Regions from separate parts of the Homo sapiens genome. Here region 2 is linked to region 1. The links are contacts of gene promoters, found by promoter capture Hi-C in blood cells and fetal thymus (Javierre and others, 2016). All regions are on one chromosome and are shown on one strand. Each heading gives the region's core, a stretch centred on a gene start or on the middle of the fragment in contact. The rest is flanking DNA. Distances are from core to core; before and after follow the strand shown.

What was found. The method cuts DNA at HindIII sites, captures the fragments that hold promoters and counts their contacts. A CHiCAGO score of 5 or more calls a contact.
Region 2: a fragment that was not itself captured here is called in contact with the fragment with the promoter of FOXB2 in region 1 in 1 of 17 cell types (M0 macrophages); the score reaches 5.0 in M0 macrophages.

Annotation. Positions count from the first base shown.
Region 1 is chr9:77,017,665-77,021,469 of GRCh38, reverse strand. It overlaps FOXB2 (forkhead box B2), which reads right to left and starts at 1,815. Exons shown (of 1, transcript NM_001013735.1): 1 at 517-1,815. The coding sequence starts at 1,815. The coding sequence ends at 517. The HindIII fragment of the contact is 5,221 bases long and covers 1-3,805 here.
Region 2 is chr9:76,755,382-76,759,186 of GRCh38, reverse strand. All of the region lies in intron 6 of PRUNE2 (prune homolog 2 with BCH domain), which reads left to right. Among named protein-coding and RNA genes, the nearest start is that of PCA3, 7.2 kb to the left of the region's middle. RefSeq lists enhancers at 2,839-2,908, 3,519-3,568. The HindIII fragment of the contact is 264 bases long and covers 1,546-1,809 here.

The DNA.
Region 1 (3,805 bases), core at 566-3,065:
GGCAGTTTTGTCTTGAATGTTCACGAGAGGCGACCGCCGAGGATGCGACCAGCAGAGAGAAACGTGGTGGCTGAGATCCGTTTCAGCGTCACTCTCTGTTGGATTCTTCGCGGGAGGTTTAGCTCTGCCAGCTTCTGCTCCCAGGAATAAGGGTCAGAATCGACTTCCAATTTACCAGCGAATGAGGCTTTCCTAACCTCCTTCGTTCCCTCCCCCCATAACTTATGGATTTATATTAATTACAATAGAAACTCTTACCTGAAAATTGGCTTTCATTAATCTGATTGTACAACATAGTATAAACACAGACACCAGGAAGGTTATATTTATTCAGACCACTGGAGAATCCACTTTTCGGGGTTGTTCGTCTATTTAAATACCTTCCGTTCCAGCAAAGGCTGAGACTCGCCAGCTCTGCCCGGCCTGACCAGGGCGCCCTCTCCCCGTCGGGTGGTTTGGGCGGTTCCGGGCCCGGCGTCTCTCACCCCGCTGGTCTCCCCACGCCCGCCGGGTCCCCTAGGAGTGCACTAGCACCGAGTGCAAGGAGCCGCCCTTGCTTTCGGCCGAGGTAGGGGCTGTGGGCTCCAGCAGAGAGGCAACGGGCGAGGCCGCGGCCGCGGAGCACACGGTGGATGGCGCCGGAGGCTGCTGCGAAGCCGCGGGGACAGTGAGCCCCGGCTGCAGCGCGGACACGGGCGGCAGCGCAGGCGTGGGCTTGATGGGCACCGGCATGGCAGGCAGGCTCTGGCTTGCCGAGTGGCACAGGGACTTGACCGGGACCCCGAAGGCCCCATACTCCGGGCCTACAGGGACTCCGGCTGCGGCTGCGGCGGCCGCGGCGGCGGCCACCGAATCCATGACGCCAACGTGCGGCCACACGGAGCTGACGACGTTGCCAAGCTGGCCGGGCACGGGGTAGCCCAGGTGGTGCATGACGGACGCCAAGGGCAGCCCTCCAGCCTGCAGCACGCCCTTGTAGTCCCGGCCAATAATGTTCTCAATGGCAAAGGGGTGCTTGAAGCCTGACGTGGACGCCGCGGCCGCGGCGGCAGCGGCGGCGGCCGAGCCCAGCCCGTAGGGTGGGAACTGAGACAGGCGTCCCACGCTGCCCACCGCGGCTGCCGCGGCCGCCGCCGCCGCCGCCGCCACGGCCGCCGCCTCCTGCATCTTGCCGGGGTGAGACGGCTGCTGAGGCTGCGACTGCTGGGGCGGTTGCTGCGGGGGCTGTGACGGGAGGTGCGGAGGCGGCTGCGGAGCAGTAGGCGGTTGCTGATGGAAATAGTGTACCATGTGCGGCGGCGGCGGGGGCGGCGGCGGCGGCGGCTGGGGTGGGTGGTGGTGATGGTGGTGGTGTGCGGCAGCGTGGTGATGATGGTGGTGGTGGGGGTGGTGGTGGTGATGGGGGTGAAGGTGCCCTCCCGGACCGGCGCCCGGCGCGCTCTTGGTGCTTCCCGCGTGCAAGTGAGTATGGTCGGCGCGCAGCACCTTGAAGCGCTTGCGACGCCGCAGGAAGCTGCCGTTCTCGAACATGTCCCCGCAGTCGGGGTGCAGCGCCCAGAAGCTACCCTTGCCAGGCTGGTCGGGCCTCCGCGGAATCTTGATGAAGCAGTCGTTGAAGGAGAGGTTGTGGCGCAGGCTGTTCTGCCAGCGCTGTGTGTGCTCGCGGTAGTAGGGGAAGCGCTCCATGATGAACTTGTAGATGTCGCTCAGCGGCAGCATCTTCTCGGCCGAGTGCTGGATTGCCATGGCGGTCAGCGAGATGTAAGAGTAGGGCGGTTTTTGGTCGCTGTACGAGCTCTTCCCCGGCCGCGGCATCGCCCCCGGCTCCTCCACCGCCCTCCGGCCCGCACTGGACCACAGAATCTCTCCGCACTCCGTTCCTGGGGCCTGGCTGCCCCCACTAATTCCCACTCGGCCCCTCCAGTCCCGCCACTTTGCCCTCTCGCCCTCCAGGCCCTCTCTGCTTCTCTCTCCTGCCTTCTCCGAATTGCCTGGTGTCTCCGACCTTGGCCTTTCGGGCCTACTCAGCTCTCGGAAGCTGGCAACTTCTGGCCCCGACGGTTGCCGACTGGCGCGCACAGTCGCGGGCGGAGTGCACCAGGTTTACCGCCGCCTTCTCTGCGTCTTCCCCCGGGTGGCCAAAGACTGAGTGCTGGAGCTGGCTGCAGAGGAGAGTGGCAAGGGGCCGTGTTTCCTCCCGGCCTCTTTGCTTTTTCTAGGTCCGAGGGAAACCCAGACCAAGATGGCTGGGAGGAAGGTCTGGGCAGTAGAGACTCTGGCCCTTTAAATCTGAGTTTGCGCCTGCTGTCCTGGAGGCCAGTGACAGCAGGACTTCCAGTGCCCTGGACGCAGGCCCCTGGCCAGGCACTTAGCCAGACCGCGCTGGAGTTCTCCTTTTCCTGGAGTGAAAAATCAGGGTAAGGAGAGAGAAGATTGGCTTCTAGGGCGCCTCTCTTTTCTCCGAGGCTCGCAGCGTCGCCGGGGTTAGAAGAGACGCGCAGCCCTAGGCTGTCGCTGAGGAGAAAAAACTTTGGTGGTTTCTGAAGCGGCAGCGCCCGCAGGTTCTGCTGAGGAGTGTGGGGCGCAGGACTCTGGGAGCGAGCGGCGGGCTGGAGAGGGCGTCTGCGAATGCTGGGTGAGTGCTGGCCGGGGAGGCTCAGCCGTCCGCGCCGCAGCTGCCGCCTTTCTCCCGGGCTTGTCTTGAGGAGGAGAGGCGACGGCAGTGGCAGCGACGCGCTCTCCTGGCTGCGTTTTGTAATGGTCCCCGAGACGCCGAGACCCCCGCAGCTAGCGCTTCGAGACTATCACATGACCGAGGCTGAGGGACTCAGCCGCCGCCGCCGCGTCTGTAGCTGAAGAAGGGGCAAGAAGGCGCCGTGCCTCGCCCCCGCCCCCTTTTCCACCTCGTTTCGGGCGCTCTCCACCCATCGCGTTCACCACTCGCTCGGCAGCCCCCAGCCACCTCCCGGTGCGGCGGGTGGCGCAGGCTGTTCGCCGGGAGGGGGCACAGCTCCGGGTGCATTTCCCGCAGCTGCGCCCCACCCGGGCCACCAAGCACGGTGGAGGGGGAACAGGACACTGCCTTCTTGCTTCTCTTCTCTCTGGCATCTCCCTCTTCCGCCCCCTTCCTTTTACCCTTCCCTGTTTTCATCTACTCGCTGTGAGCTTCTCTCTCCTTACAAACCCTTTTTCCTGGGCTAGACACTCTGGGTCAAGTTCAGAGTATCGTGTCCTCAAGGCCTCTTCTCTGCAAGAAACCCCGATGATTAGAGGGCTGGAGGGAAAAACTCATGGGGAAGAAAGCATGGGGTGTTTTCACCAAATGCCAAATTCATCTCAGTTTTATTGCGCGCCAACTGCATGTGAGGCACCAGGTGCAGGGAGACAGGAGACAGTATCCGAGCTCCACCATCGCGGTATAGAGGGTGAGACGAACAGTAACCAAGAAATTAATAGAATAGGCACTAAAGGGCTTGGCGAATGGAGGCTCCACCACACTTTCCTGGAGCGAGTGAGTTGGACAAGATGAGGTTTCTCTGGGATGGCGATGTCTGAGCTGGGGCCAGAAGTAAGAGTTGGGGATTCAGGGGTCCCATCACCTGTGTGTGCTGGAAGGAAATCTTTGCTATTCTTAGCACGGTGGTGTGGGGCCAGGGCGAGGCAGGAGGTGGAATGGAAATAATTAAATAGGAAGCAAAAATTATCAGTCCACAGGATCCTGGTGTGATCTGCGAGGGAGAGGTGGATGAACCCAGGAGTGAGGTCCTTCTGCTTGGAGGTTCCTGCTCTGCACTCATCCAAACAC
Region 2 (3,805 bases), core at 428-2,927, 260 kb after region 1:
AATGGTGGTCTCCAGGGAGGGAGACCCAGACGGGGAGGTGAGCAGGCAAGGCTTCTGTGGCTGAACACTCTACCTCGAGGGGACTGTAACTCAGTCAGCTCAGTGGCCACCAGCTAAAAGGGGCTTGTTTCTTCCAGTATGAAGTCTGCTTCTCCAGCAAACACCTGCTTTGCACTGGAGCAGAGCAGACCTTAGGTTCTTGTCCCTATTTGCCACCTTCTGATCTGCTCCTGTCTGAACCCCCTGAGCCCCTCCTAGACTACGTTGCCTGGACCAGTTCCCCTGGTCAAGGGTGATCATGGAATAGAAAAGGATCAGAAGCTTTGACTTTAAATTCACAGCCATTTGCTACCCGTAATTTTTTTTTTCCTGGACCCATCACAAAAATTTCCTGTGGTTTCAGCCTTCTTATCCACCTATCCAGATTGTGTTGAGGGTTAAATGTGATAATGTAGAGAGAAATGCTTGTATGGATTGTAAAGTTCTGTGGGGTAGAAAATGCCTGCATCCTTTCCAAACACCGTGATTCATCTGGGCATTGTGATGCTTGCCTGTAGTCCCAGCTACTCAGGAGGCTGAGGCGGGAGCAGCCCTTGAGGCTTGAGACTGCAGTGAGCTAGTATCACGGTGCTGCACTCCATCCTAACTGACAGTGAGACTCTGTCTAAAAAAAAAAAAAAAAAATTTTTTTAAAGATATAACAACCAGACACCCTGATTCAACAGAGCAATTATTTCCTATCATTGTTATTCCCACTTGATTCTTCTGCAACTCTCTGCAGCACTAAGCAAGGAAACCCCTCAGCACCTCCTGGACTGAAAATACTAGGAGTTATGCATGCAGATTCCTTTAAGAACCATACCACCCATGGCTGGACAGGAGGGTGACTTCAGCATTACTTCTTAGTTTCACCAAGTTTGCATTTATTTAAGTTCTACACAGTTGGTCCCAAAAGCCTCAGTGCAGTTTTATGCGTTAATACTGTCAGATATAGAAATACTATAAGCTTACAAAACGCTGCTTTTGGAAGTTTAGTTATTTTCATCTCTTTTACTCTATTAGTTTTATAAGTTTTGAATAATGTATTTTGAACTTTCTATTTTGTTATAGTCTCCTGATTGAAGATAGCAAAGGTTAACCAGAAGAAAAAATTATTATTTAAAAAATTTTTTAATTCACAGAACTAAATCAGTATAAAAGGAATGAAAACAAACTTTCAAATGATGTTTTATGTAAGTTTTTAGTATGCATGTTTCTGAAGTCATTAAAGCTTAAAACTGCACTAAGACTTTCGGGATCTATTCTAATCTCTCTTTTTTTGGGTGGGGCCCAGGGATCCTCCTGCCTCAGCTTCCTGAGTCACTGGAACTATAGATGCATGCCACCATGTACAGCTAATTTTTGTAGAGATGGGATTTCTCCATGTTACCCAGGCTGGTCTCGAGTGATTCCCTGCCTCTGCTTCCCAAAATGCTGGAGTTACAGGTATGAGCCACCATGCCTGGCCTGTTGTAATCTCTTGACCATTCCACAAGAAACAAAGCTTTGAGCTTCATTAATAAATTCTTCCTCACTTCAGTTATTATCGCAATTATTACCAGTTGAGCCCTTCACTCTGGCAGTGATTTATTGGCATTCTCTAATATTAGTCATCTCAAGCAGAAAAACTTAGAATGGTTTATAGATGCTTTAGTTTCTGAAATTTCAGTCTGAATCCTAGTTTAGGCCCTTTACTCATTTACATACGAGTAAAAAGCAGTTTTCAAAACTAACATGACTCAGAATGCAGCCAAGCAATCAAAAAAAGCTTCTCTTTGAGTTTGCCAGTTGACAGTATTTTTCTGGCAGTAGTTAGTACATCTAAATATTAACTAATTAATCTAGCTTGTAATATTCGCTGCTGGTTTCATTGAATGAGGTGGGAGTAGGTCAGATCTGCAGACCATTCACAATCTCCAAATGCAAATAAAGTAGCATTTGTTTGTAGGTGGAACCAAATGATTATAAATGAATGGTGAGCCATCTCCTGGGATTGGATATAAAGGTCCTGTAAATGCAGAATTGTATCAACAAACAGCTGTTGGGAAAATACTATTATGCTGTAATAGCTGCTATTAAAATCCATTAGCAGTCTTGATGGCCTGTTTGAATTTGATGCATCATTTGCTCTGAATAGCATTTCTTCCTAAAGTTTTGCAGTAGAATTTATGCAGATTGATAGCTGGTAACAGTGACATTCTGGGAGATTAATACTGATTAAACACTTTGCTTGCATTGGCTATTCCAGCCCCCCAAAAATGCTGCAAATACTGCAGTTTAAGTATCACGGGGGGGCAGGGCACGGGCAGGGTGGGTGGGGAACAGCATCAAGCATCAAGGCACCCCCCTGTCCCTGGTGATGGAGGCTTTCTCACACTTGGCGTGAAACATCCATTTTGCTTCCATGACAAAGGTTTGCAGACTTGAAGCAGGTCCTCTGTTTCCCACTTTTTAATAACCTGCCTTTTCCTCATCCTAGTACCTTTTCCAGACTCAGGGAATCCTCCTGGGAGGCCACAGTGCCTTCAGGACACAATCTGGCTGAAAATGTTAGATGTCTAATGAGATTTTGAAAAACACATGTGTTGGCAAAGAGAATGCAGCTGTTCTGATGGAGGAAGCATTCAAATGTTAGGATGGAAAGCCAGCGCCTGGTTCCTAGTTGCGACAGCCATGCAACTCTGGAAAGAATGGGGAAGCAGCGCCATCTGGCCAGTGAGCCATACAGGCAGCTCCCAGGGGTTTACCAATTCAAAGAGGAGAGCTGCCAGGGACTGGTTTAGGCCAGCTTCACAGTTCCTGGGTGCCGTAAGTGATCCAGGATATACAGAGACGTTTTCATGCAGATTAGAAGAGACGTTAGGGTAAGTCACTGATAAATGTGGAATACATTAAATCAAGAGTAATTTTTTATCTTAAAAAAGCAGTTCCTTTTGACATATGCACTTACATGACCTCTCATTAGTTGGGGGATTTTCAGATATTCATCAAAATGGCTCTGTGAAGAGCTGAGGTTTGTTAATTTTAAATATTTTTCATCTACTTTCACTTTCTTAGTAGCCAAAGCTGGTGGTTGGTAGGAGGTGAAAGGGAAGGACCACCAGGAAATTATTTGAAAGTTTCGCTCCTCAAAGTATGATCCCCTGGCCAGGCGCGGTGGCTCACGCCTATAGTCCCAGCACTTTGGGAGGCCGAGGCAGGTGGATCACTTAAGCTCAGGAGTTCAAGATCAGCCTGGACAACATGGCAAAACCTTGTCTCTACTAAAAATGCAAAAATTTACCGGGGCGTGGTGGCGTGCACCTGTGGTCTCAGCTACTTGGCGGGCTGAAGCGAGACAATCGTTTGAACTAGGGAAGTCGACCTGCAGTGAGCCGAGATTGCGTCACTGCACTCCAGCCTGGGGTGACAAAGTGAGACCCTGACTCAAAACAGAAACAAAAACAAAGTATGGTCAGCAGCAGATTGAGCGTTACCTGGAAGCTTGTGAGAAATCCAGATTCTCCCCGAGGTATCTGAATCAGAATCTGCATTTTAATAAGACCCCTTCTTGCCCCTTGAATGCCTTCCCTGACTCCTCAAGGCAGGCTTCTAGATTCCTGCCCTCTCCTCCCAGCGTTCTTTGTCCACACCCCCACTAGACAGTGTAGCTTCTTGAATGCTTAGCCACAAATTCTTTAGGGCAGGAAGCTGAGTATTTTTTTTTATATCCCCAGAGTGGCACATGGTGTTCACTTAACCACCCATCCAGCCATCCATTCCTCCC